Regions from separate parts of the Homo sapiens genome. Here region 2 is linked to region 1. The links are contacts of gene promoters, found by promoter capture Hi-C in human tissues and cell types (Jung and others, 2019). All regions are on one chromosome and are shown on one strand. Each heading gives the region's core, a stretch centred on a gene start or on the middle of the fragment in contact. The rest is flanking DNA. Distances are from core to core; before and after follow the strand shown.

Region 1 (3,682 bases), core at 101-2,600:
GACAAATATAATAATCTTGACTTCAGTCTCTTTTGTAATTCTTCTTCCGCTCCCTCTTCTGTTCCTCCCCCACAAAAAACTTCTAATGGGGTCTAGAGCAGTTCCCTACACAACGCAGGGTGGAGGGGATGAAGTAGTGGGGGCATTATCCTTCTTCTTGGACGGAGCTCGCCCTTTGCCTGCTGCCTGAATTCTGCACCAAATAAACCAATGTGCACCTGGTGAGACCCTCAGAGCGAAGGGCAGACCTCGGCCTGGCAACCCTTGCTCTCTAGAGCAGAGGAGAAGCCAAAAGGCTGGAGGGTCCCACCCAATGCTCTCCTCCAGCACGCACGCAAACACATGCATGGATGCACAAACAAGCGCACGCACACATAGGAGCGCATGCATAGAAGCAGCACACGCAGACACACACATGCAAAGATGCCTGCAAAGGCACACATGCACACGCACATACATGTGCAGACACCTGCAGAGGCACACATGCACACGCAGACACACAGATGTGCAGACATCTGCAGAGGGACACATGCACACGCACATACATGTGCAGACACCTGCAGAGGGACACATGCACACGCAGACACATAGATGTGCAGACACCTGCAGAGGGACACATGCACACGCAGACACATACATGTGCAGATATCTGCAGAGGCACACATGCACACGCAGACATGCACACACACGAACACATGCACACGTACACAGGCGCATGTGCACACACAGGCATTCAGGCACGCCGCGTAAATGGGGCAACGACGAGGCCCTGGATGAACCGTGGGGAGAGACCGCGAGCCTGGATTCTACGGCGACAGGGACTCCTCCGGCGAGGCGGCCTGCGGGGGCCTTCCGGCCGCGTCCGCCAACTGGACCGACCCCGAGCCCCACCCGGCCAGGCACCCGAGGTCTCCCTGGTGGGCAGGTGGGGAGGCCCCACGCTGGGACCCTGCACCGCCCCTCGCCCCTCCCGACTCGGGGCGTGCAGACCCGACGACCGTGGGAGCGAGTTCGTGGCGCTCACGGGCGCACGCGAGAGTGTAAACACCCGGCCCCACCCCCTGATCGCCCCCACCCCGCCCCGCCATTGGCTGCGGGAGCAGAGTCCCCGCCTCCTGCTTGTTCTGGCTCCGCCCCTGCCCCGTCTCCGGGCCTCCATTGGCTGTGGTGACAGCGACCTTTCAGGAGGGGCGGGTGGGCGACAGCCCGGAGGCGGTGACGAGAGTAAGATGGACGGACAACCAAGCCAGTGAAAGCGCGCAGCTGCCCTAGCAACTGCGGTCCACCAATGGCGGGGCCGGGCGGGGATGCGCGCTGTCAGCGCTGGGCGGCGGGGCGGGGCCGGAGGCGAGCAAGGACTCGGGGCCCGCGCGGCGCCTCTCGGGGCCGGGCCGCCGCCTCTGCGCTCAGCCCCGCAGGCCGGGCATGGGTGGGGGCGCCGGGCCGTCACGATGAGCGCCCTGGGCAGCCCGGTCCGGGCCTACGACTTTCTGCTCAAGTTCCTGCTGGTGGGCGACAGCGACGTGGGCAAGGGCGAGATCCTGGCGAGCCTGCAGGATGGCGCGGCCGAGTCCCCGTACGGCCACCCGGCGGGTGAGCGCGGGCGGAGGGCGTGCCGGGGTGCGGGCGCGGGGCCGGGGAGGGGCGCGGGGCTGGGGAGGGGGTGCGGGTGGGGGTCCGGGTCCGGGGACGCGAGACCGGGCAGGGGTCGGGAAGAGGCCGGGGCGCGTGGCCGGGGAGGGTAGGAGTCCCGGTCCGGGGGCGCGGGGCTGAGGAGGAGCGCGGTTCGCGGGCGGGCCTTTCTCCGCCCGGCCCTGGCCCTCGTGCTGCGGCGTCCCTGTTGCACCCCCAGTTCCACTCGAGGCCCCGCGGCGCAGTCTCCATCCTTCTCCGCAGTCTGCGCGCAGCGGGAGCCCGCGGCTGGGCCGGGCGCTGGGCTCCTCCCGACCTGGGGCCGCTGCTGTGGGGACCCGGGGCGGGGGCTCGAGTCCGCAAGTGCGCGTTCGGCCGCGGGGCAGGAGGGGCGGGAGGGGACGCGAGCTCCGGGGCTCCTGGGGCGGAGCGCGGCGAGCAGGCGCCCAGGTGCTGGGTCTGCGCGTGGGTCGGAGGGGAGGGGAGACCAGGGTCCGGTCCCGAGGCCAGGGGTCCCGCGTGTCCGGGGGAGAGGAAGGAGCACAGGTGACTCGCGTGCGGAAGAGGGGACCCCCCACGACAGCGGCCGGAGAGCGGGTTCCAGGGCGAGGGGAGGCCGGAGCGCCCAGAGCTCCCAGGCAGGCAGCCCGGGGATCCCCCAAGTTTGAGGCTTGAAAGCCGGCGCCCGGCGAGGGGGTGGACGGCTCCGGGGAAAGAAAGGCGGGGGCAGGAACCCAGGAGAAGGGGGAACGCGCAGAGGCGAACACCTCGGCTGGGAGTGAGGAGCAGGCGGGGCCTTCACCCACGCGCATCCCTGGAACAGCTTGGACGAGGCCGACCCTGAGGCTGTGGAAGGAGCCCAGCCTGTGCCCACCTTCCTGCCGCGCCTCGGGGCTGAACCCACGCTTCCAACAGAGACCCGCTCTGAGTCCTGGGCGGAGGAGGGCAGCCGGGCGTGGAGATGGAGTCTTGGTGGGAAGGACCTGTCAGCTCTGGGGCCTGGGAAGGGTCTGGGAAGCCCCAGGTCCAGGGTCCTGCCAGAGACGAACTTAGCGGGAGAGGGTGGGAGGAAGCGGGATCTGAGGCTGCTCGGTAGAGGGTGCAGGCTGTCCCCTAAGGGCAGCTCCAGGCAGGCGGCGTGAGCACCAAGGGAGTGTGGCACGGCTGGAGGGGGTGGCCTGAGACTGTGGAGCGTGGGGTGGGACTCAGGTGCCCGGCCACACCTCAGCTTAGGGGACGGGGTGAGGAATGGGCAGAGTTTGGGGGAGCAGCTGAGATGGGCTTGGGCTCACGACCAGCACCCAGAGGCCTCCTGAAACTGCAGCATGCGGGGGAGTCTCTGGCAGCTGGTGGGTGCAGAGTGTGCTCCGTGGGGCAGGAGGGGAGCCTGCGTCTCTACCTGTCCCCAGGCGCCGCTGCCCCCGCATGTCCTACCCCCCTCCCCGCTCGGTGGCAGGTCTCTAGGACCGTGGTGTCCAGTAGGATGCCATGAGCCACGTGTGGCTGTGGAAGTGTAATTAGAAGGAAAGAAAACAAAAAGCTTCCATTCGTCACATTTCTAGATAGTTCGGATGTCGCTGTGGCAAAGTCCGAGGGCCAGCGCTGCCCTGGAGATTGAGCGCCTGGAGGACAGGGCTGGAGATTGAGCGCCTGGAGGACAGGGCTGGAGATTGAGCGCCTGGAGGACAGGGCTGGAGATTGAGCGCCTGGAGGACAGGGCTGGAGATTGAGCGCCTGGAGGACAGGGCTGGAGATTGAGCGCCTGGAGGACAGGGCTGGAGATTGAGCGCCTGGAGGACAGGGCTGGAGATTGAGCGCCTGGAGGACAGGGCTGGAGATTGAGCGCCTGGAGGACAGGGCTTTGTCTGCACTGTGCCCTCGGGGTCTGGGCTCAGTGAGGGATGAACCCTACCAGAGCTACAGGAATAAAGCACCCAACAACGTGTACGCCCAGACGAATATGGCGCTTTAAGAGCTGTGCGTGTTTTGGGGGAGCAGACGGTTGACAGTGTTGAGTTTGATTGAAGGTGAGTGCCGTGGGGCGTGTGTG
Region 2 (2,500 bases), core at 1-2,500, 110 kb after region 1:
TTGTCTTCAGACTGGGAGTGACTAAGACCAGAAAGCCAACCGCCTGCCCTCCAACCGCCTGCCCTCCAACCGCCAGCCCTCCAACCGCCAGCCCTCCAACCGCCTGCCCTCCAATAGCCAGCCCTCCAACCGCCTGCCCTCCAATCGCCAGCCCTCCCGGCTTCCATCTCCTCCCAGCTACCTGCAGTGCCACCAGGTTTATCACCTTAGAGCATCCACAGCCACAGTTACCCAGAGAGAAGAGAAGGAGGAGACACAGGGCTTGGGGACGAAGGCATTCAAACAGGTAACTGATGACTGCAAACTCTGCGATCTATCTACAGGCAGCAAGTGTTGCTATTACTTAAAAACAAAAAAAACCCCAGGTAGTCAGTCTTCCCTAGAAAAGGTTCCAGACCTTGTTCTTCCATAAATTTGGGGAGAGGCAGGGTGGTGCTGAGTCAGAGTAGGAGGTACCTGCAGGTTTCAAGGTCTCTGTTCGTAGCGTTCGGTAAGGATTCAAACGTCGTGATAAAGCCTTCTGACCTGTACCCTCTTTCAAAGAAAGCGTGTCGTGGGCACAGAGACAGTTTTAGTCGGTAGCTTCGGATTTGCCTGCTTGAGATCCCGCAAGCGCCAGGATCAGCCACACAGCCGGCAACAGCCCACATGTACCCAACCCAGAGCAGCGGGAGCCCACACCTGAGCCAGGCCCCAATGCCAGAGTTGACTCGGCAGCCAGCAGGGACTCCCACCCTTTCCACACTCCACAGGGCAGGGCGAAGGTAGATAACCCGGTGTCGGCGCGGAGGTTCTGGTGTCTCCACTTGTCAATGTCAGAACATCCGTGCGGTTTTCTGTGCACCGGCCTCGGACGGACTCTGAGAGCAAAGCGCACAGAAAAGCAGCCTCTCTCCCACCCTCAGCAGCATAGCACCGCCACAGGCCACAGGGCGCGCGAGGCCAAGGGAAAAGACACGCGGCGGCTCCCGCCGTTTCAGGCCGCTTCCAGGCCACACCCAGGAAATCTACAAGAGGCGAGAGTATTTTTCCCTCTCAATGTATTAGAAACTCTCATCTCTTTTCAGGCAGGTCCTCCCACGGGAATCCCATGACGGCCGACTCCACGACCACTTCCCCAGCATGACTAGATTTCCTGCAGCTTCGAAATGCAAACATTGCCTCAGACAAAAGCTAAAATTGTTACAGTCAGAACCGAAACCACGAGTGAGAAGGGGCTCTGCTCCCAGTACCCACAGCCACGGGGAGCCACCGACCAGCATGTCTTACCATTGTTCACCTGGCCGTGGACCGCAGTGGGGACTGATGCCACGTGAGTGCCGTTTTGTGTTACAGTTTTTATTGGTAGCTGGTGTTGACCTAGAGGTGCCTGTTGTACTATGGTCACCGTCTGGACCGGGGTGGTCTGTGCCGTCTGAATGATCCGGCTGGCAGTGCCGAGCGTGGCGTGGCCAATGGCGGGAATAGGCTCTACTTTCACTGAAATTAAAGGAAAAGAAACGACATTAATATTACTGGAAAGCAAATAAAAATCTTGCCAGTTTAAAACATAATAACCAGATAGCTATCACACCTGCTAGAAAATGTCTCTAAAACAAACAGCAAATTAGAAAAAGATGAGCAAATCTTTTTTTTGTTTTTTGAGATGGAGTTTCGCTCGTTACCCAAGCTGGAGTCCAATGGCGCAATCTCAGCTCACTGCAACCTCCACCTTCCGGGTTCAAGTGATTCTCCCGCCTCAGCCTCCCGAGTAGCTGGGATTACAGGCACCCGCCACCATGCCCAGCTGATTTTGTATTTTTAGTAGAGACAGGGTTTCTCCGTGTTGGTCAGGCTGGTCTCCAACTCCTAACCTCAGGTGATCCGACCGTCTCAGCCCCCCATAGTGCTGGGATTACAGGTGTGAGCCACTGTACCTGGCCAAGGATGAGCAAATCTTATGGACTTCCCAGAGTGTGAGGCTGATGGGGCAGCCTCTCCTCCTTTCCCCTCCGCCTACCTTTGACCTCCCTGTGGTCTCCCCTCTCCTCCTTTCCCCCCCGGCCCACCTTTGACCTCCCTGTGGTCTCCCCTCTCCTCCTTTCCCCCCCCGGCCCACCTTTGACCTCCCTGTGGTCTCCCCTCTCCTCCTTTCCCCCCCGCCCACCTTTCACCTCCCTGTGGTCTCCCCTCTCCTCCTTTCCCCTCCGCCTACCTTTGACCTCCCTGTGGTCTCCCCTCTCCTCCTTTCCCCCCCGGCCCACCTTTGACCTCCCTGTGGTCTCCCCTCTCCTCCTTTCCCCCCCCGGCCCACCTTTCACCTCCCTGTGGTCTCCCCTCTCCTCCTTTCCCCTCCGCCTACCTTTGACTTCCCTGTGGTCTCCATTCTCCTGGGCCTCTGCCTTAGGAGGGGCCAGCACGGCTGCCGGGGTGACCACAGCTTGTCCAGAGACAGTGTACGTGTTCGCTGGGGCCAGTCCGGCCACACTGGTGACCGACACCGCTGGGATCTGGTGGACGA

What was found. The method cuts DNA at HindIII sites, captures the fragments that hold promoters and counts their contacts. A contact is called where the count stands out against the background at its distance.
Region 2: a contact is called between a fragment that was not itself captured here and the fragment with the promoter of RAB40B in region 1, in 4 of the 25 tissues and cell types used here (dorsolateral prefrontal cortex, lymphoblastoid cells, pancreas and 1 more).

The regions. Positions count from the first base shown.
Region 1 is chr17:82,696,366-82,700,047 of GRCh38, reverse strand. RAB40B (RAB40B, member RAS oncogene family) reads left to right here and starts at 1,350. Exons shown (of 6, transcript NM_006822.3): 1 at 1,350-1,593. The coding sequence starts at 1,452. RefSeq lists silencers at 782-1,171, 1,192-1,621. The HindIII fragment of the contact is 28,650 bases long and covers 1-3,682 here.
Region 2 is chr17:82,586,042-82,588,541 of GRCh38, reverse strand. It overlaps FOXK2 (forkhead box K2), which reads right to left. Exons shown (of 9, transcript NM_004514.4): 7 at 2,342-2,500; 8 at 1,270-1,479. It overlaps FOXK2-AS1 (FOXK2 antisense RNA 1), which reads left to right and starts at 120. Exons shown (of 3, transcript XR_001753132.3): 1 at 120-286; 2 at 1,068-1,312. RefSeq lists a silencer at 823-1,023. The HindIII fragment of the contact is 6,150 bases long and covers 1-2,500 here.